2 separate regions of the Homo sapiens genome follow, and region 1 is linked to region 2. The links are contacts of gene promoters, found by promoter capture Hi-C in human tissues and cell types (Jung and others, 2019). All regions are on one chromosome and are shown on one strand. The core of a region is centred on a gene start or on the middle of the fragment in contact, and the rest is flanking DNA. Distances in the headings are between cores, read along the strand shown. Region 1 has its middle 15 kb from the start of RAB3IL1. Region 2 holds the start of EML3 (EMAP like 3).

Region 1 (3,484 bases), core at 956-3,455, 680 kb after region 2:
GTCTCCTTCAGTTTCTAGTAACATTTTCTTCATTTTGTTCTGAGTCCTCACTGGTAGAGCCTTAATAGCCATCTTTCTTTTTCTTTTCTTTTTTTTTCTGAGACAAGGTCTTGCTCTGTTACCCAGGCTGGGGTGCAGTGGCGCAATCTTGGCTCATTGCCGCCTGCACCTCTTGGGTTCAAGTGATTCTCCTGCCTCAGCCTTCCTAGTAGCTAGGACTGCAGGCACACACCACTATGCCCAGCTAATTTTTGCATTTTTAGTAGAGACAGGGTTTCGCCATGTTGCCGTGAGCCACCACACCCAGCCAATATCCATATTTTTACTAACAATCTGTTCAAAGAAACCTAGGCTTTTTCTGTCATGCTCCCCAAAATTCTTCGTCTCTACTCATTACCCAATTCCAAAGCTACCTCCACATTTTTAGGTTTTGGTTACAGCAGCACTCCACTCTTGGTTCCAAAATCTGCATTACTTTTTTTAATGATAATTGTAACAAATTATCACAAACTACGTGACTCTAAACAACAGAAACTTATTTTCTCACCATTCGGGAGGCCAGGATGTCCAAAATCAGTATTACTGGGCCTAAAGCAAGATGTCAGTAGATCTATGCTCCCTCTGGAGGCTCTCTTGTCTCTTTCAGCTCCTGGTGGCTGCCAGCACTCCTTGGCTTTTGGCCACAACACTCCTCCATCTTGTGCCTTTTCCTCTTTTGTCTGTGTCAGATCTCTTTCTGCCCCCCTCTTATAAGGATACATGTGATTGCATTTAGGGTCTACTCCAATAATTTGGAATAATCTCCCCATCTCACGGTCCTTAACTTAATTACATCTTTACAGACTCTGTTTTCATATAAGGTAACATTTACAGTTTTCAAAGATTAGGATTCAATATCTTTGAGAGGCCATTTTTATCCTACCACAGTTATGGTCCTATCATGGAATATTATACAGCAATAAAAATGAATGAACTGGCCAGGCATGGTGGTTCACACCTGTAATCCAAGCACTTTGGGAGGCTGAGGCAGGCAGATCACAAGGTCAGGAGTTTGAGACCAGCCTGGCCAACATGGTGAAATCCTGTCTCAACTAAAAATACAAAAATTAGCTGGGCATGGTAGTGCAAGCCTGTAATCCTAGATACTCAGGAGGCTGAGGCAGGAGAATTGCGTGAACCTGGAGGCAGAGGTTGCAGTGAGCTGAGATTGTGCCACTGCACTCCAGCCTGGGCGATAGAGTGAGACTCCGTCTCAAAAAAAAAAAAAAAAAAAATGAACTATAGTTACATAAAATAAGGTAAGTCTTGGATATAATGTTGAGTTAAAAAAAAGTTCTAGAAGACTTTATCACTATTTTCTATTTATGTCTTTGATTTCTCTTTTATTTATGTCTTTTATTTCTTTTTAATGTCTTTTATTACATTGTAAGCCCTATAAAGCTTAGAATGTAAACCTCATAGGGCAGGGCCTTGTTTTGCTCATTGCTATACACCCTGTGCCTGGAAGAGTGACTGTCAGGCAAAGAAATACCAAACAAATAACTGCTGAATGAATGAACTATTAAAATGGATATTTTTGAAGACTGATATAAGCAAATAAAAAATCTTACAGTATAACACTAATTTTTTTATAAACCAGAATCCCAAAGTGCTGGGATTACAGATGTGAGCCACCATGTCCAGCTAAGGTGGTCTTTTTCAATTTGAAAACTCATATACTTCAGTTTTGGGAAATAATCTTGAATTATTTATTTGATGCTTTACCCCCTTCATTTTCTTTTCTTTTTTTTTTTGAGACAGAGTCTCGCTCTGTCTCCCAGGCTGGAGTGCAGTGGTGAGATCTCGGCTCACTGCAAGCTCCACCTCCCGGGTTCACGCCATTCTCCTGCCTCAGCCTCCCGAGTAGCTGGGACTACAGGCGCCCGCCACCACGCCCAGCTAATTTTTTGTATTTTTAGTAGAGACGGGGTTTCACCATGTTAGCCAGGATGGTCTCAAACTCCTGACCTTGTGATCTGCCTGCCTCAGCCTCCCAAAGTGCTTGGATTACAGGTGTGAACCACCATGCCTGGCCAGTTCATTCATTTTCTTCTGTTGCTTCTTTATTCAGATATTGAATCTTCTAAATTGATTCTCTACTTTTCTAATCTTTTCACTATTTTCCATTTCTTTCTTTCTGAAGGATATTCCCTCAACTGTGTCTTCCAACCTTACTCATTGTTTTCATTTCTACCATCATGCTTTTAAAAAATATATTATTTTCCAATAGTTTTTGTTGTTCTGTGAATGTTTACTTTCATAGAATCAGGTTATTATTTCATGAATGCAATACCTTCTTTTCTCATCCTGAGGTTATTAATGCCTCTCCTTCTTCCTCCTCCTTGCCTTCCTTCTCCTCCTCCTCCTCTTCACCTCCTCTTCTTTTTTCTACAGAGTCTCTGTTTCCTGCAAGTTGCTTTTCTTCTGCTTACTGGGTTTGGTCTCTCTTAAGGTAGAGGTTCTCCTTAGTTGTCTAATAATCCTTGATTGCTCATTATTAAGAGCGAGATCTTAAAAACTGATGGCAAGCATGTTGACTTTGAGCTGGATGGATATTTTGTTGGGTAACATTCGTCTTAGATCTCTCTTCTTGGGTTGGCCAGAGTCCCATAGAGGGGCTGTCTGGAGGGTAAAAGTCTGTCTTTACCCTCCTGGTGACTGAGTGAGTTGCCACTTTGGCTGACAAGTGACAGAAGAGGGTTGGAGGTCTTGGATTTCAGTGTGTATATAATCACTTAACCCTCTTATTCAGCTACTGGCCCAAAGACCTTCTGTTTTGCCTTCTCCAGAGAATAAATCTCCAGTGTTATGCTAGACTAAGAAAGGGGCAGTTGGCCAGTGGCATGGAGTAGAGGAGGGGACCTAGGGATCAAATTGCTTATCGGTTCGCTTTGATCTAGTGCTCTATACTTCAGTTACTACCAAGGCCAGTGGTCTCTGCTGCCACCAGCTCCTGATGTTTTGCTGCCTTGATGTAGCCGTAGTTCAGAGACATTTGTTGACATCTCACACCATAATGATAGATGTGTCTATTTTCCCCTGTAGCTTTAATTATTTTTGCTTTAAATATTTTAGGCTATTTTATTAGGCACATATTAATTTAGATGGTTATATCTATCTGGTGAATTTTTTTTAAACATTGTCATCACTTTATTATTACTGCATAGTGACCACCTCTACACTAATAATGTTTTTCGTCTTAAAGTTTGTTATTAATTTGGTCTTTTTAAGACAGGGTCTTGCTGTGTTGCCCAGACTGAGTGCAGTGGCATGATCACAGCTCACTGCAGCCTTGACTTCCCAGGCTAAAGTGATCCTCCTGCCTCAGCCTCCCAAGTAGCTGGGACTACAGGCCTGCACCACCACGCCTGGCTAATTTTTGATTTTTTGTAGAGATGGGGTCTCCCCATGTTGCCCAGGCTGGTCTTGAACTCCTGAGCTCAAG
Region 2 (3,462 bases), core at 636-3,135:
TGCTGTTTGCAGGTACCGCAGGCCAAGGAGCACCAGAGCCTGTGGGGGAAGCAAGGGGAAAGAGTCAGGGAGAGTCAGCGGTTCCAAGAGGCCCAGGGTTGGAGGCAGGGAGGAGTCCCGGGTGGGAGGAGGTGTCAGATGCTTTGCTGACTCACCTGCAGTAGGAAGGTGACAGCCAGCATGCTACCCAGTGTGCCTGCCAAGTCCTGCAAGTGCTCCAGCAGCACCTCATGGCACCCTTGGGCCCAGAGGTTTTGGTTGGGTTGTCGGGGATCGAACAGGGGGTGGGCGTAGGAGTCTGAAAGACGGTTTTGCAGGCAAGGCCGGGGTGAGTGGGGGTTGCAACAGGAGAAAGGGACCCCATCAGTCAGGTATAGGCCTTCTACATTGCTCTGGATCCGGCTGCAAAGGGAGGGACAGAGGGGTTAGGATGTCTGGAGATAGAGGCCTGGGGGAGGGACTGAAGGGCACAGGTGTTCAGAAGGGAAAAAGAATAGTAAAACATTTACTGACTGCTGTACTATGTGCCAGCCAAGCATAATTCACATCTTCACAACAACTCTATCAGATAAGTACTATTATTTCCATTTTACAGGTGAAGGAATGGGCCCAGGGTGGTTTGGTAACATGCCCTGGGTTTCACAGCTAATAAATGGCAGAGCTGTAACCAGTCTCTCAGCCACTATGTTCTACTTATTGCCCCTCTGAGCGAGGTGGGGATTCAAGGCAGCAGGAGGGAGCCTGTCCAGGGAGGAGGAGGAGGAGGAAGGGAGACGCAAATCACTCACTCAGCCACATCCCGGTCACCGGGATCCAGGTAACGGCTGCTGACCCACTGGACCCCAAACCAATCCTTGTACCCGTGGCGCCCGCAGCAGTGGTACCTCAGTTGCAGCTCATCCACCAGCCTTTTGGCCTGACAGTGCCCAGGCACCTCTGTGTCCTTGTAGTGAGCCAAGGCAGTCACCAGGCCCTCCTCCAGCGCCTCATCCAGACTCCCAGGCAAAGCCAGGGCTAGCCCGAGGCCGACGACCAGGAGCCCCCCCCCACCAGCCGTGCCAGCCACCAGCAGCGGGCCCAGGACCCCTCGCCAGGGAGGGTATAGAGCTGCATTCAGACTTGCCCGGCTGGCTCCTACACCCACTAGTCCTGTGCCCAGAGCCACCGCGCCCGCTGCCAGGGCAGCCTGGGGCAGGACAGGGAACTGACAGGAGGGAGCCAGGAAGGTGCCAAGGTGCCTTAGCTGGACCAGGAGGTGCCCACTACAGAGGAGGATGACGCCACCAGCCAGCGCCAGCAGCCAGGAGAGGAGCCAGAGCCCTTGTGCCAGGCGGATGCGGGGCTGCAGGGGCAGCACCAGGGGCAACACCGGCGCCATCTCCCATCTCTGCCCAAGGGAATGCAGAGGTGTCAGGGATGGAAGCTGGCTGGGGCAGGATGCTGAGTCAGCCCGGCCCGGCTTGAGCTGGGCTAATGCCACCCTGACCCCAATACCCTGAGCATCCTCCCATCCTCAGCCCTAATAACCCGCCCCCCTGTCAGCCCCAATACAAGATGCCTTGGCCTTGCCCCTTACGAGAAACTCCGCCCCTAGGCCGAGGGCCCGTTTTGTGACCCCGCCCCTGCCCCTCGCGGAAGTGGTGGGGTTGGTCCGCTCAACCCTGAGGGGTTAGGGGCTGGGGGGCGGAGATATCGGGGCGGGCGCTCCCTTCCCCGTCCCCTGGGAATCCGGGGGCGGGGATCCGGGAAGGGCCTGGAGCCGGAGGCCGGGAGTAGGCCAGGGGGTCAGCCGGCTAGCCCCGCCCCCGTACTGAGCGGCGAGGCCCGGACAGGGAGGGGTTACCAAGCGGCCCGGCCCCCCCTCGGGCCCGCCCCCCCTCCCGCGCTTCCTGGCGGCTCCGCGTCCGGCGCCTGTTTGTGCTGCGGCGCTGTGGCACCGGACGGCCCTGCCACCCCACCCCCGGGAGCCGAGAGCGGCCCCGGGAGAGTCCGAGGGCCCGGGGGGGTCTGGAGACTGCGGCCCCGGGCCCACAGCGCCCCCTCCAGGCCCCTTCCCCGCGCCCGACAGCGCCCCCTCGGGGTGGTGGTACGGCGCCCTTCGCGCGCGCCCCGGGGTGCTTCCCCTTCCCCTCTCCCCGGCCGTGGCCCCCGCGGCTTAGACGCCTCCTCCGCCGCCGCCGCTCGGAGCAACCCGGGGGCCGGATGGACGGGGCCGCGGGGCCCGGTGAGTACGGGGCGGGGCGGGCGGCGTGCCCCTTCCCGGAGCGCCCGGCTCGTCGGGTTATGCCAGAGCTGGACGGCTGTCTGGAGGCGTCCCCGCGTGCTCCTCCGCCCCAGGGGCTCCGAGCATCCTCCACAGTTCCTCCGGTCGCCCTCCCTAGTTGCTTGGGTCTTGCTGTCACTTCGGGCTTCCCCAGCGTCATTCTACGCCCCACGTAACTCCGGGCCCCTCGATGTTTCCCTGCCCCCTGCGTTACTCCGGGCCTCTTCTCGTGGTATTTCAGGTCTTTTTCCTTCTGATCCCCACTGCCCCCTGAGACCTTCACTGTGACTCTGCTCACCACTCACACTCTCTCCTGTCACTCTGGATCTCTTTTCTTGTACTCTGGGTCCTCAGTATGACTCCATTCCCGCACCCCGTTCTCTCTCCTGGTGTTCCCCCGGCTCAGTTACTCAGCTTTCGCTGGAGACCTGAGCTTGCTGGGGGCGCGTGGGGAGGGCTGCGGTCCCTGCCCTCACCAGTGCGGCGCCTCTCTCTGTGGCTCCCACGTTCCTCGGCAGTACTCCATATTTCCCCCCCGGTACTCCATGGTACTCCCAGTCTTTGCGGAGGCTGAGACGGCAGCAGGAAGGGAGCTTTGCCAGGTTTCTCGCCTGCCCTGCCAGAAGGAGGCCCTTGATCCTTTACCACCGTCTCCTCCCCTCTGGACGAGCATTCAAGCCTGGGGCTGCCTGAAAGGGGCAGTCCTACCGGACACATGTAAAGTTGTGGGGAGACAGAATCCCCTCTACGCTTTCTTCAGGTGATGGGTACATTCTGAGTACCTCTTGCCCTTTTCCCAGGTGACGGCCCTGCTCGGGAGGCCCTCCAGTCTCTGAGCCAGCGGCTTCGGGTGCAGGAGCAGGAGATGGAACTGGTAAAGGCAGCCCTGGCAGAAGCCCTTCGCCTGCTGCGGCTGCAGGTGCCCCCTTCCTCCCTGCAGGGCTCTGGCACACCAGCTCCTCCGGGGGACAGGTATGCATGTCATCACACCCCATTTTTCCTCCTCCTTGGGGCCTCTGGGGCTTCAGGTTAATTCAACATCTCTCCAGCAGTCTTGCAGCCCCCCCAGGACTGCCACCCACGTGCACCCCTTCCTTGGTGAGCCGAGGCACCCAGACGGAGACAGAGGTGGAGCTCAAGTCATCCCCTGGACCCCCTGGCCTGAGCAATGGACCCCCAGCCCCTCAGGGGGCCAGCGA

What was found. The method cuts DNA at HindIII sites, captures the fragments that hold promoters and counts their contacts. A contact is called where the count stands out against the background at its distance.
Region 1: a fragment that was not itself captured here is called in contact with the fragment with the promoter of EML3 in region 2 in 1 of the 25 tissues and cell types used here (dorsolateral prefrontal cortex).

Annotation. Positions count from the first base shown.
Region 1 is chr11:61,930,560-61,934,043 of GRCh38, reverse strand. It overlaps a transcript of RAB3IL1 not described here. Among named protein-coding and RNA genes, the nearest start is that of RAB3IL1, 15 kb to the right of the region's middle. The HindIII fragment of the contact is 6,912 bases long and covers 1-3,484 here.
Region 2 is chr11:62,611,198-62,614,659 of GRCh38, reverse strand. EML3 (EMAP like 3) reads left to right here and starts at 1,885. Exons shown (of 22, transcript NM_153265.3): 1 at 1,885-2,224; 2 at 3,064-3,235; 3 at 3,316-3,462. The coding sequence starts at 2,203. It overlaps ROM1 (retinal outer segment membrane protein 1), which reads right to left and starts at 1,403. Exons shown (of 3, transcript NM_000327.4): 1 at 789-1,403; 2 at 156-402; 3 at 1-39. The coding sequence starts at 1,378. RefSeq lists enhancers at 1,409-1,468, 2,242-2,801, 2,802-3,360 and a silencer at 1,519-2,398. The HindIII fragment of the contact is 22,621 bases long and covers 1-3,462 here.